Regions from separate parts of the Homo sapiens genome. Here all the other regions are linked to region 5. The links are contacts of gene promoters, found by promoter capture Hi-C in human tissues and cell types (Jung and others, 2019). All regions are on one chromosome and are shown on one strand. The core of a region is centred on a gene start or on the middle of the fragment in contact, and the rest is flanking DNA. Distances in the headings are between cores, read along the strand shown.

Evidence for each region. The method cuts DNA at HindIII sites, captures the fragments that hold promoters and counts their contacts. A contact is called where the count stands out against the background at its distance.
Region 1: a fragment that was not itself captured here is called in contact with the fragment with the promoter of LRIG3 in region 5 in 3 of the 25 tissues and cell types used here (bladder, heart left ventricle and thymus).
Region 2: a contact is called between a fragment that was not itself captured here and the fragment with the promoter of LRIG3 in region 5, in 1 of the 25 tissues and cell types used here (dorsolateral prefrontal cortex).
Region 3: a contact is called between a fragment that was not itself captured here and the fragment with the promoter of LRIG3 in region 5, in 1 of the 25 tissues and cell types used here (IMR-90 fibroblasts).
Region 4: a fragment that was not itself captured here is called in contact with the fragment with the promoter of LRIG3 in region 5 in 1 of the 25 tissues and cell types used here (hippocampus).

The regions. Positions count from the first base shown.
Region 1 is chr12:59,096,024-59,098,723 of GRCh38, forward strand. The region is part of intron 3 of LRIG3-DT (LRIG3 divergent transcript); the gene reads left to right. Among named protein-coding and RNA genes, the nearest start is that of LRIG3-DT, 180 kb to the left of the region's middle. The HindIII fragment of the contact is 3,776 bases long and covers 1-2,700 here.
Region 2 is chr12:59,145,468-59,148,167 of GRCh38, forward strand. No RefSeq gene overlaps it. Among named protein-coding and RNA genes, the nearest start is that of LRIG3-DT, 230 kb to the left of the region's middle. The HindIII fragment of the contact is 4,185 bases long and covers 1-2,700 here.
Region 3 is chr12:58,756,528-58,759,227 of GRCh38, forward strand. The region is part of intron 1 of LINC02388 (long intergenic non-protein coding RNA 2388); the gene reads right to left. All of the region lies in intron 1 of LOC100506869 (a long non-coding RNA gene), which reads left to right. Among named protein-coding and RNA genes, the nearest start is that of LINC02388, 24 kb to the right of the region's middle. The HindIII fragment of the contact is 4,751 bases long and covers 1-2,700 here.
Region 4 is chr12:59,163,353-59,166,052 of GRCh38, forward strand. No RefSeq gene overlaps it. Among named protein-coding and RNA genes, the nearest start is that of LRIG3-DT, 240 kb to the left of the region's middle. The HindIII fragment of the contact is 5,481 bases long and covers 1-2,700 here.
Region 5 is chr12:58,919,128-58,921,827 of GRCh38, forward strand. It overlaps LRIG3 (leucine rich repeats and immunoglobulin like domains 3), which reads right to left and starts at 1,377. Exons shown (of 19, transcript NM_153377.5): 1 at 873-1,377. The coding sequence starts at 1,108. It overlaps LRIG3-DT (LRIG3 divergent transcript), which reads left to right and starts at 1,577. Exons shown (of 6, transcript NR_183518.1): 1 at 1,577-1,663; 2 at 2,272-2,345. RefSeq lists an enhancer at 274-543 and silencers at 924-1,003, 1,424-1,533, 2,152-2,261. The HindIII fragment of the contact is 9,447 bases long and covers 1-2,700 here.

The sequences.
Region 1 (2,700 bases), core at 36-2,535, 180 kb after region 5:
GGTGGATATAAGAAGCAATATATGAATAATCTCAGATGAATCATTATATCATCATCTAGACAGAAATTTATGTCTTTTAAAATTAAAACATTTCTTTTTTTTAGTTAATTAATACAATGCTATTTGCAGCTCCCTCCTACACTTTCTCCCACATATTTGCTTCTATTTAATGATCTGGAAAAAAAGACTGTAGCACAACAATGAAAATTTTAATGATATTAAATTTGGTGGCTTGGCAAGCAACTATAGAAATAGAGAAACTAATGAATGGGCCTAAAGACCTTAGAAATCTGAGCAAAAGATAAAACTAGATTCAAGCAGGAATTAAATGCAAATTAAGACATCTGGAGAAAGGTATTAAACACAGACATTCAGGAGGCAGGTAAAATCATAAAGGCTGTGAGACAGCAATGTGAGGTAATAGCACATCAGCTATTTCATTATGGAGAGGCAACATAATGACTAATTCACTTTTGTGTCTCCAATTTTGAATCCCTCTACAGAAAAGTGATAGATTATGTATCTCTTGAAAGAATGTTAGTATTCCAGAAGCTTCAATGGAAGTGCCATATAATTACCAGAATGAGGAAACTGCCTACTATTATGTTACAAGATCTCCACCTGCTTCTCTCATTTACTTCACACTAAAAAAGGAAGTATTCCAAGGTCCCTATCAAGGGAGCAACTAATGTGATGAATAAGAAAAACATCCATATAGAGAGTCACTGAAAACCTCAACATCCTTCGTTAACCTTGGGGTTCCCAGCCACTATTTGTTTTAAAATAGCCTTATGTGAACATCACATTGCAAGGCATATGTGCCACAGTTGACGGTAAAGGGAGCCTGTTCCTGTTCATTTTATAAAAGTTGTGACTGAGGAAAATTTCAAACATGTATAAAAGCATAGAGGATGAATTTGGAGCAGCAGCTTATCAACTCTTGTCCAATCTTGTTTCTTCTATACACTCTCATACGCACTTGATCTCCTCACACCCTGGGTTATGCTGACGCAAATCCCAGACACTTTTATATCATCTTTTAGTATATATAGCCAAAAGATAAATATACATACACCTCTTTTATAGCATTACCACTATATCATTACCACTCCTAAACATTATTAATACTTCCTAAATAACATATTCATTTTTATATCCTCAGTGCCCAGTCTGGTCCCCACATAATAAACATCTCTATGAATGAATGAGTGAAATGTCTCCCCACTTACTCAATTTATTAATTTAAGAACAAATATTGCTACTTTTAGTCTATTGCTACTCTTCTTTATCTCTCAAAACCCATCCCAAGGGCTTCTCTTTTGTGAAAACTTTCACAATATTTCTAAATAGAGTTTGTTACTTGTATGTTTATTTCCCTGCTCAACATCTCTGTGCATTCTTTGTTTTTGAAGACTGACAATGTATTAGGCACTGTGCTAAGCCTGTTGCATGGAAAAATACTTCTATCTCTATTTTACTAAAGAAGAAATAGAATCACATTGGGGTTAACTAACTACTCTGGGGCACGTGCCAGTGAATGACAGGGCTAAGATTTGAACTCAGGCAGTCTGATTCTAGAGTTCATGCTTTTCACCAGTTTTATCCATCTTTATACTCTACTTAGGAACAAAGTGGCTGGATACATAGTAGAAAATCAAAAAATGTCTTGGAGAAAAGGATAAAAGGAGGAAGGGAGAAAGAGACGGAGGGAAAAAGAAGAGAGAGGAGGGAAGAAGAAAAGGAGAAAGGGAGAGAAGGAGGATGAAGGAAAAAAGGAAGAAAAGGAAGTAAGGAAGGAAAGAAAGAAGGAAGGGAAAGAAAAGAGCATATGATTATTGAGACTACTTGAGAGGGAGAAAAGATAGGACAATAAATTATATACCACCATACAGTTTCAAAAATGTATTTTTATTAATTTTACTTGCTTTTTTCAATAAGTGTAAGGTAGATATTAATACTCATTTTGAATATTCGGGAAGTAGTTCTTAGAGACAAGGAGAGAATTGTTGAAACTGGTAGAACTGGCTCTGACTCCTCAATCTTGACTCCACATCCTATTCTTTTTAGTGACTAAAATGTCATTCATGTCTTTCTTTGGTTAAGACTGGCATCCCCATAGAAAGAGCTGAGTGGCCATTGTCTAGAATACAGTGCCCTAGGTCAGAGGTCTGAAATGCTTTTTGAAGAGAAGCAGAATGGTTGGGGAACAGAAGTCTCAAAATTGCCCTGGCTGATGAATTGGCAGTGAAAAGGTGTTTACAGCCAGGGAAGGCCATCAGTATGGTGTGGGGGAAGGGGTCCCCAAGACAGCCACACTTCAAACCATGGCCCTGGAGCCAGTTATTCTTGACAGAAACACAACCACCCAAACATTGCCTCTTATAATGTGTTCTCAGTTGCACGATAAATTTATGATGAAGAAGTGGATAAATGAATAAAACATCTGCCATGTTTTGTAACTTTGAGAACATTGATACCATTTTCATGTAGGGTGAAAATGTTACTGTGCAAAAAGGATGTACTAAGAATTGTCAATTTGTAGTGAATCACTATTTGAATATTAATTTTTGTGTACTGTTTTATATTTTATTTTACAATTCAGATTTAAATTAATATTAGAGTAAATATTAAGAGGAAGAGGAATATAAAAGCCCAAGGGTTGACTGCACATGAGTGATGTTAGATACCTATTTAGTCAAA
Region 2 (2,700 bases), core at 84-2,583, 230 kb after region 5:
TCTGAATTACTTTGTTCTTCCACAGAAACAGGACGTACTATGTCACATGAAATTACTAAAATAATAAATTCTTATTTTCTTGAGGGAAAATTATGTAGTCTGATTTAAAAATATAATGTGGTGACCAAAACAGCAGATTAGCAGAGAATATGATTGCCTCTGATTGTCCTTCAATATCACCTCAGATTCTAAGTTATTATTCATTCATTTGTGATGAGGTATCTCATCTCCTCTGTCATTTGCTATGTTTACAATCCCACAAGAATCTATACTGCTTCCAGATAAGTGACATAACACATAGATTGGCATGTCCTTGTGAGCAAGTTGTGTACCAAAAACATAATGTATTCACCAAAAATGAAGTCATTTTACATCTTCTGTCACTGGACTTAATTGGGTAGTTAGGTGACTTACAAGAACATTTTCTTTGCTATATCTAAGTTAAAGTTAAACTTGTGAGTCCTTTCACGTGGAAGGAGATTGAAAAAGATAAGCTTTCACATAGAAAGTGATTTACCAGTCATTTAAAGAATTCATTGAGAATAAAATACCTAGGAATCCACCTTAAAGGGACGTGAAGGACCTCTTCAAGGAGAACTACAAACCACTGCTCAATGAAATAAAAGAGGATACAAACAAATGGAAGAACATTCCATGCTCATGGGTAGGAAGAATCAATATCGTGAAAATGGCCATACTGACCAAGGTAATTTATAGATTCAATGCCATCCCCATCAAGCTACCAATGACTTTCTTCACAGAATTGGAAAAAAATACTTTAAAGTTCATATGGAACCAAAAAAGAGCCCGCATCACCAAGTCAATCCTAAGCCAAAAGAACAAAGCTGGAGGCATCATGCTACCTGACTTCAAACTATACTACAAGGCTACAGTAACCAAAACAGCATGGTCCTGGTACCAAAACAGAGATATAGATCAATGGAACAGAACAGAGCCATCAGAAATAACGCCACATATCTACAACTATCTGATCTTTGACAAACCTGAGAAAAACAAGCAATGGGGAAATGATTCCCTATTTAATAAATGCTGCTGGGAAAACTGGCTAGCCATATGTAAAAAGCTGAAACTGGATCCCTTCCTTACACCTTATACAAAAATCAATTCAAGATGGATTAAAGACCTAAACGTTAGACTTAAAACCATAAAAACCCTAGAAGAAAACCTAGGCATTACCATTCAGGACATAGGCATGGGCAAGGACTTCATGTCTAAAACACCAAAAGCAATGGCAACAAAAGCCAAAATTGACAAATGGGATCTAATTAAACTAAAGAGCTTCTGCACAACAAAAGAAACTACCATCAGAGTGAACAGGCAACCCACAAAATGGGAGAAAATTTTTGCAACCTGCTCATCTGACAAAGGGCTAATATCCAGAATCTACAATGAACTCAAACAAATATACAAGAAAAAAAACAAACAACCCCATCAAAAAGTGGGTGAAGGACATGAACAGACACTTCTCAAAAGAAGGCATTTATGCAGCCAAAAAACACATGAAAAAATGCTCACCATCACTGGCCATCAGAGAAATGCAAATCAAAACCGCAATGAGATATCATCTCACACCAGTTAGAATGGCAATCATTAAAAAGTCAGGAAACAACAGGTGCTGGAGAGAATGTGGAGAAATAGGAACACTTTTACACTGTTGGTGGGACTGTAAACTAGTTCAACCATTGTGGAAGTCAGTGTGGCGATTCCTCAGGGATCTAGAACTAGAATTACCATTTGACCCAGCCATCCCATTACTGGGTATATACCCAAAGGACTATAAATCATGCTGCTATAAAGACACATGCACACATATGTTTATTGCGGCACTATTCACAATAGCAAAGACTTGGAACCAACCCAAATGTCCAATAATGATAGACTGGATTAAGAAAATGTGTCACATATACACCATGGAATACTATGCAGCCATAAAAACTGATGAGTTCATGTTCTTTGTAGGGACATGGATGAAATTGGAAATCATCATTCTCAGTAAACTATCGCAAGAACAAAAAACCAAACACCGCATATTCTCACTCATATGTGGGAATTGAACAATGAGAATACATGGACACAGGAAGAAGAACATCACACTCTGGGGACTGTTGTGGGGTGGGGGGAGGGGGAGGGATAGCATTGGGAGATATACCTAATGCTAGATGACGAGTTAGTGGGTGCAGCACACCAGCATGGCACATGTATACTTACGTAACTAACCTGCACATTGTGCACCTGTACCCTAAAACTTAAAGTATCAAAAAAAAAAAAAGATTATTACTTCCAAAAAAAAAAAAAAAAGAATTCATTTCAGTTTTTTTCATATATTACTACTGGGCTAAGTTTGTTTCTTTCTGGCTTTTTCCTAAAGCAGGATTTCAATTGTACTGATGCCATCATAATTCACAGGAGAGAAATTCTTCAACTTTCTCTGGAGTCAGACTATATGTAATGAAGTTGTTCCCGAGGTGATTAGTCATTACATATTCAAGTTATGATATGCTTTGGTTGTGTCCCCTCTCACATCTCATCTTGAATTTTAGTTTCCATAATCCCCACATGTCATGGGAGGAACCCAGTGGGAGGTAATTTAATCACAGGGGTGGTGACCCTCATGCTGTTTTTGTGATAGTGAGTGAGTTCTCATGAGATCTGATGGTTAAGTGCTTTTCCCCCTTTGCT
Region 3 (2,700 bases), core at 108-2,607, 160 kb before region 5:
ATTAAAGTAAAAATAAAATTAAAATCATCTGAAATCTGTTCGTGGAGAAATTACTATTGTTGACAACTGGATTTCATATTTACATAAATAAAATATTACAAAATAAAAATAAAATGAAGTTTTTAACTTGCTAGTATCCATTAAATCAATACCATCGTATATATACAATATGAAATTATCACCCCATAAAGAACTATTAAGAAAAAGCTTATTTAAAATGCTGAATTACCATTACATATACATTATGTTATGATAATTTCTATTGTTATGGTTTCTTTCTAATTGGTCTTGAGGCCTAGAGAGGCCTAAAGCCAAGATAAACATTTGCTAGGAGAGCCCTGATAGGGGAAAGTTAAGTTCAAGTGTGTGTTTCAGGTGACACACAATGAAGAAGTAAAACCAAAATGCATGAAACAGATCAAATTTATTACTCACTGGCCCCAGAGTGATTCAGTGTGCCAACAAGAGGCTGACTGGGAGATGTGGAGGTGGCAGGGAGCTGGAGCTGTGGAGTAGAGGAAGACATGTTGAGAGAGAGAGAGAGACCTGGAAACTATGCCTTTATTAAGGTCCAGGGTGTTATCCCTTAGGCTTTCCCATGGGAATTGCGGATTGGCTAGTTTAAGGAAAATATTTATTTATTTATTTTAGAGATAGCATCTCGCTCTGTCACCCAGGCTGGAGTGCAGTGGCGCGACCTCAGTTCACTGAAACCTCCGTCTCCCGAGTTCAAGCAATTATCCTACCTCAACCTCCCGAGTAGCTGGGATTACAAGCACGTGCCACCTCACCCCGCTAATTTTTGTATTTTTAGTAGAGTCAGGGTTTCACCATGTTGGCCAGGCTGGTCTTGAAGTCCTGACCTCAGATGATCCGCCTGCCTCAGCTTCCCAAAGTGTTGGGATCACAGACGTGAGCCACTGCGTGTGGCCGGGGAGAACTTACTGGCATGACTCTAGAGTTGACCATTAGGTTTTCTCGTGGTCGGGAGCTGTGAAATATTTTCGGCTTTGGATCACTGAGATGAGGAACAATGGGCTATATCACAAACAGCTGCACAGGAAGGAAGAAATTTTAACTAAGCCAAAGGCGACAGGGCACAACTGGGTTCAAACAACTTAGGTCAGCCCTAAAAATAGATACTGAGGCAGCAAGTATAGGAAACACCAAATCTATGACACATCACTTAGTGGTTAATAGAATAAACCTCTCTGCAATGTCTGTTTTTGAATTTATCTTTAGCATATACTTTAGTTTGCCTTACTCATATGTCCTTGATTATTTTTCTTTTGTAACTTTTGATAGAAATGGCTTTCAAATAAAAATGAATTCAATAAACATTTATTGAACGCTTACTGTGTGCCAGGTATGAGGGTGGCAGGATGCACTGATAAATTAGATATGGTTGCAGTCCACAAGGAGTGAGAGTCTATTAAAGCATGTGGATATAATGAATTTAAACTCTACGATAAAATATGACATGAGCTCTAGCAGATGTTTACCGAAGGTGATACAGGGCATAGAAGAGGGAGCAATTGACTTTCCCTGGCAAAGTAAAACAAAAACAAAATCCTTCAATTTGTAGGGATGTCTTATGCTGAATTTTAAAAGATGATTGAGGTTTGGGGTGGGGATCATAGTGAACGTTGCCCGAATCAAAGTGAAGACGGTAGAGGCAACAAAGGCAGGTTGACATAAAGTCAAGTTGCAAGGTAAGCACAGCGCCAGGCAGTTCATGATGACAGTAGGGTAGTGAAGGGAATGAGGGGAGTGGGCATGGAAAAGGAGGTTATGGGACATTCATAGAGGCAAGACTAGCAGATAGGCACAGCCAGATCTAGAGTAGAACACAAAGGTTAGACTAAAACTTTTTATTGTTACAAATTTACACATGATAGAAAGACACAAAAAGGCTAACTAGGAAGTATTTTCTCAGGCTCTTCATGTATATTTTATTTTTTCCCATCTTTAAAATTTAGACACTAGAGGATTTTACTTTCAATCCTCAGTAAGAAGGCAGTAATAGATTTAAAAAGACATTCAAGTAAAGGGAGTCAATTTGGACAACCCAGTAAATGCATGCATGAGATTGCCTGTATGAACATGTAATGAGAGTTCTGGAGGCTTTCAGGGCTGTGTCTGTTGGCAGCAACTAAGGAAATGGCAGCACTGTTACAGGCAAAGCAAGCTTGAAGGAACTCACTTCTAAGTCTCATGACGGTTTTGGACATGTTGATTTTGATATAAAACTGAACAGTTTTATTACTTTTTCAAAATATTTTTAAGTTCAGGGGTACATGTGGAGGTTTGCTATATAGGTAAATTTCAGGTCATGGGTAAATTGCATGTCATGTTTAGTGTACAGATTATTTTGTCACCCAGGTAATAAGCATAATATCTGACAGGCAGTTTTTCCATCCTCCCCCTCCCCCCACCTGCCACCCTCAATTAGGCCCCAGTGTCTGTTTTTCCCTTCTTTATGTCCGTGTGTACCCATTGTGTAGCTCCCACTTATAAGAGAGAACAAGCAATATTTGATATTCTTTTTCTGCATAATTTCACTTGGGATAGTGGCCCTCAGCTCCATCCATGGTGCTACAAAGAATATAATTTTATTTTTTTTATGGCTGGCTGCTTAGTATTCTGTGGACAGACACACGCACACACACGCCATGGAATATATATGTGTGTGTGTGTGTA
Region 4 (2,700 bases), core at 103-2,602, 240 kb after region 5:
TAACAAAGGAGAGAATATTAAATAATGAGTCGTTTATGTATTAAAACAAACTGAACTAGAAGTTTTACTACAAGGATGAATTCCTTTCTGTACACTGGAAGCTAGAGTGATACTCATAGGAGACCATAGTTTTCTGTTTACAGAGGCTGAACAGGCATGAACTTAACTATGTGAAGATCGAACAGAGATGGCAATAATGAAAGATTTTTAATGTAATAATGATTAATACTAAAATCTAGAAAGGTAGTTTTTGAGGTTAAACTGGACAAGGTAATCATATTTAACAGAGAAAACTTGGTGAGAAATGAAATATAGTCTGAAGAGTAAGTGGTTCTTGGGTTTATAGTAATAATTTATTAATTTTATTTGAACATTTGGGAAGTAGCTTTAAAAATTCCTTTTTGTATTTCCAGAAATGTATATCTGAACTCCTGACTTACCACAGAATTTGGGCCCCTCTGACATTGTAGCATGCCCTGTGGTACTTGGCTATTGGGATATTTAATCCTTGACTACCTTATCTGCTCTCTTTTCTTCTCCCGGCAACCATGTGGAACCAGTTTGTGAGCAAAGAGTGGCTTAAGATGTAGTAAAATTGACATGAAACATGTATTTACTTGCTTCATGAAGTTTTTTTTTTTTAATCAGTTAAAGGGGTGTCTATAGAAAAAGTTAAGAGCTTAGGGCATTACTGTTATCAGAAAAAATTTGGAGTTAACATTAACAGAAATATTCAGTATTAGGAATGTTAGCTGTTGAAGTACGGAAATGAGTTCCTACATATTATGGGAAAAAATTTAGAAACTTTACATGGCATAAACCCAAAGGAAAGTAAAATTTGATTTAATATTCATTAATTTGCTCAATCATTAAATAAATGTTGCATGAATGCCTACCATATAGAAGTCTTATGCTGGACCTTGTGGGTAGAATAACAATGAGTAAAACATATCTCTCACCAGAGGGACCTCAGTGTTATGGTCTAGTGAACAATAATAATAAAAAAAACTAAGTACATGAAGAAAGGGATTTGTGTGATCAATGTGTTGGGAATTGAAGGCTGGTAGGCCATCTAACCACAATGGTTGAATTATTGATTTTTATCTTATCTTACTCCAGAAAGAATGTTTTAGAAATGAGATAGACAAAATGAAACAAACATGAAATCTGGGGTGTTAGGAACAAAAAACCAACCCTTATAAAGGTGGAAATACTTATGCACCTCCCCTTCTGAAAGATAAACTACAACCCAACCAAGTTTGAAGTAGGAACAGTAAGAAAGAAAAAATGAGTAGAATGTTGATTTCTTTCAGACAGAAAAAAGTAACCAATTGTATATATTTCAAATATTGTTAAAGTTACTCAGTAAGGCTTTGAAAAATTAAATATCATCTCTCAGTGTGAGATGATATCCATAAATGTGCTTTAAACTCTTCAAAAGGCAGTATGTGGCACTCACTGTTTGCTATTTTTTATCTCTTTATACATTTTTATTTTGCTGTATTGTCATGTCTCCATGACATTAAAAATGGATAATGAAAAGAGATGAAAAGCTTAAATCACTGTTATTTTCTTACAGCTTCAGGAGAGATTTGATGAAAAAAATTATATTTTGGCATCATCTTGACTCTTGAACTTACTCCCAGATCAGCTACAAATTTGTCCTATGGCCTGAGGCACTGAAAACACGACAGAGCTCTGCAATAATTTCCAGTCAGACCAGACAACCTAGTTATTCCCTTTTCCCAGGTGTCCCGGTGACCTATATTATTGTCAACAACAAGGCATTACTTCAGCTTCAAGTCTTGCAAAATCTACTGGATTGGAAGACCAGATATTCATTTCACCATTTAGCTGAAAATGCACAGTACATTTTAGAATGATGGGGTTTGTTTAGCTCATCTATCCGTCCATCCTTACTTTTATTCTATTGGGTTCTTAATTCAAAAGAAAGACTGCCACCTACTGGATGTGTGATACGAAGAAGATATTAGCATTAAAATATACTCTCTCATTAAAGGTTGATTCAAAATAATTGCAGAAGAAAATATTCAAAAGAATGTCCAATTTTTACAGATAAGTATTGAACATATTTCCTTAAATGATTTTATTATCAGCAAATACTGAATAAAAATTATTTAACAATGTCCATCTAATTATTTAGAAATAAAATTCCTTCTTCCTGTTCTTATTTTAATACATTAAAAATTAATTTACCTTTTTTCCAGTAATAGGGAATAATTAAGTATTCTCTTATGTTGTCTGTATAAAAATAGAATAATGATCTTGACAATTTAATACTATTTTGTGATACAAAAACTCAGGTTATAGAAATACTAACAACTTTTATAACCTAGATTCTAGTAATTAAAAGCAGTCAAATTTGAAAAGGAGAAAGGTGCTCTCGTGGTTCAAATAGAACCAATGATTTTTATCAACCTAAAGTTAGCATTTAAAGTCTAAATGGTTGGTTCTCTAACTTGCTATATTATATTTCTTATGTCTCTATTATTATTTATTCTGTAGAGTACTAGTTAGCCTTAAGAAATAATTAGCCCCTTTGCCTTCAGATGCCCTAATATTTACGTCTATGGGGGTCTACACCCAAAGAACCCCATTTTATCTGTTTGACTAGCCACATTTCAAGTGCTCAGTAGCCACATATGTTAATGGATACTGTATTGGACAGCTGGATTTATA
Region 5 (2,700 bases), core at 127-2,626:
CTCCAATTTTAAAACTGGGACTGAGGAAGAAAAGAGATGACATTTGGAAAAGATCAGCATTTCCAACTAAATTACATTTTCTTCCTTGTTCTTCACGCAGTTGGCAGTGATTTCAGGTTTTCAGACTTCGCAGCTAAAAATCCAAAAACTTGCATAAGAGCTCCCTGCGCTCTCCCCTAAACCGTCTGGGCGTTCTGAGGAGCTACAGAAATCACGCCCTTGATTCTGGATAATCGAGTTCCGCCCTTTCCATAGCTACCGACCAGTCTTTACAATCTGGTTGAGGAGTGGGAACTTACGGTCTGCTAATGTGAAAAAGCAAGCAGAGGGAGAACAACAGAAGTACGTCCACCATAACTTGGAGAATGACCGAATTCTGTTGAGGGGGCTTCCCAAATGAAAAGCCTGACTTCAGTTACTGGGTGGGAACAGGAAAAGGAGTCTGACGCAGCTAGAAACTAAAACTGAACCAGACTCATAACTCAGCGAGAACTGCAAACTCCTGATGTGTGCAGGTTGCCGCTTATCTCCCCTGGGCCTGGCAGGAGCAAGCATTTGAACCCCTTGGCTAGCTTAGGGCGCAGGACTTCATCCCCAATCTCTGGCGTCGTTACTGGCCCCCAACCCTGGTCTACCTGCAGCCAGTTAGGACGCGCCAAGAGCCCACCTGCGCCGCCCGCAAAGCACGTGGGAGGGAAACTGAGGCCCGGACAGTTCTTTTTCCACGCCCACGGAGCGCCGATCGCGGCCTGGGCCAGAAGGAGCTATACGGCAAAAAGGGGACTGCACGCCGAACCCCATTCCCCGCCGGCTCCTGTTTTCTCGAATCTCCAGCGGCCCGGGCCCCCTCCCCCCGCGGGAAGAATACTTACAGCCGAGCGACCCAGGACGGGAGTGGCTCGGGAAGACGCGCTAGCCGCTTACGACTGCAGTCCAGCAGGTCCCCGAGGCAGCGGCAGGTAGTGGGGCATGGGCGCTCGGCGGCTACCCCAGAGGGCTGCCCGAGTTCCCCGCGACCGCCGCTGTCTGACCGGCCAGCGCGCCCCAGCACCGCGCACAGCAGCAGCCCCAACCCCGCGGCGCGCGCACGGAGGCTCGGCGCGCTCATCGCGGTCCAGCGGCCTAGGTCTCTACCCGAAGCTCCCAGCCGGCGCGCGCTCGGGGCCCGGCACAAACTTCCAGCCGAGGGTGCACGCCCGCCCTCGCGGTCGCGTGCGCGCTCCTCCCTCGCGCTGCCCGGTCAATTCCTTCTTTTACTCCCGGCGGCGAAGCCCTTTCATGCCCCCAAACAGCAGGAGGGAAACCGAAAAGAACTGCCAACTGCAACAGAGTTGCAGCTTGAGCAGCGTCGGCTCGCCGAAGCCCCTTCTTGTCTGCAAAAGAAACTTTTTCGCCTCCACCCCGCGGCACTGCGCCAAGTCCCCGCGCGGCGGAGTAGCAAGGCGGGCGGGTAGAGGCCGACGCGCGCCCATTGGCCGACTCGGCTGCGGGCGTCCCCGTGGCCACGTGACAATAACACCGCTCCAGCCGGGGGCCTACGCGCGGGAGAAAGTGGAGCTGAGATTGTAGGAAATTCAGAGTTATATTTTCCAGCCTCTCCAGCCAGAAGTCTCCACTACGTCGTGGGAAACATATATCAAATGGAGTTGAAAGGCAAAAGGAAGTGAGCAAATACTGGGCTAGTTCTCGGAGTTGGAGGTATTTAGGAGAACTTCAGGGAAGTAAAGTTTAATTAGCAGTGTTTTCAGGAAACTTTTCAATTCCAAATTAAAGACACTGATAAATTATCCTACCATCCACAGATGAAAGAGTGGTTTCAATGAAAACAGCTCTTTCAACGTTAATGCTGGTGGGTGTTCCCCCATACATCGGCTTCAAAAGTAAAAACAATAATAAAACGTAAAACTCGTGGTTTTGGAAAGTGTATATTGAATTACAAATAGCCAGCCTTCGTGCACTGGATAAAGCTGGGCGGGGTGGGGGATGGGAGATGACCTTCTAATAGACCTCGATGGCAATCATAGATTCCTGGTAATAGTAATAATAAAAGTAGTCACAGTGACATTTCAAAGTAAAATGAAAACTAAGACCTTGGAGGAAAAAATTAGTATATGCACCTTGGTCCACTTGCGCTTTGAGTAATGACACATGTTGATTGAGAATGCTACCAGGGTAAAAGTACCTCCCGGCCTCCTCAGCTGGGGGAGTGGATGTTTGGGGCTGGATTCAGGCTACAGGACTTCCCAGTGAAGTTTGTTCCTTAACTTACAGGTGATCAGCGCCACAAGATGTTGAAACTAATGGAGACCGCAGAGATCATGTGCTAAGGGGCCTTCCTCCTCTGGGTAAGGAAATAGACCTAGAGAACGTAACTAATGTGTTTGTTGCAAAAAAAATAAAAATAAAAGCAAGACAGAAAACATGAACAAACCAAAAAACAAACCCTGGAAGCTTAAAGTAAGTTTTCACTTCTATACATTGTTTATTGCATGCTGTCTGCCCAAGCTTGTCTGTCCTTGGAGTTGCGTAAACTGCTCATGATTGAGGAGTGGAGATAGCTTGTGGAGTTGAGACTTTAACCCTGACTCTAAGGCCCATTGATTTTTCACTGTAGCAAATCACTCCCACTTACGGGGGAAGGAAAAGACTCACTTTGAAGTTAACACACCCTATTTTAGATATGGTATCCCATTTTCTTAT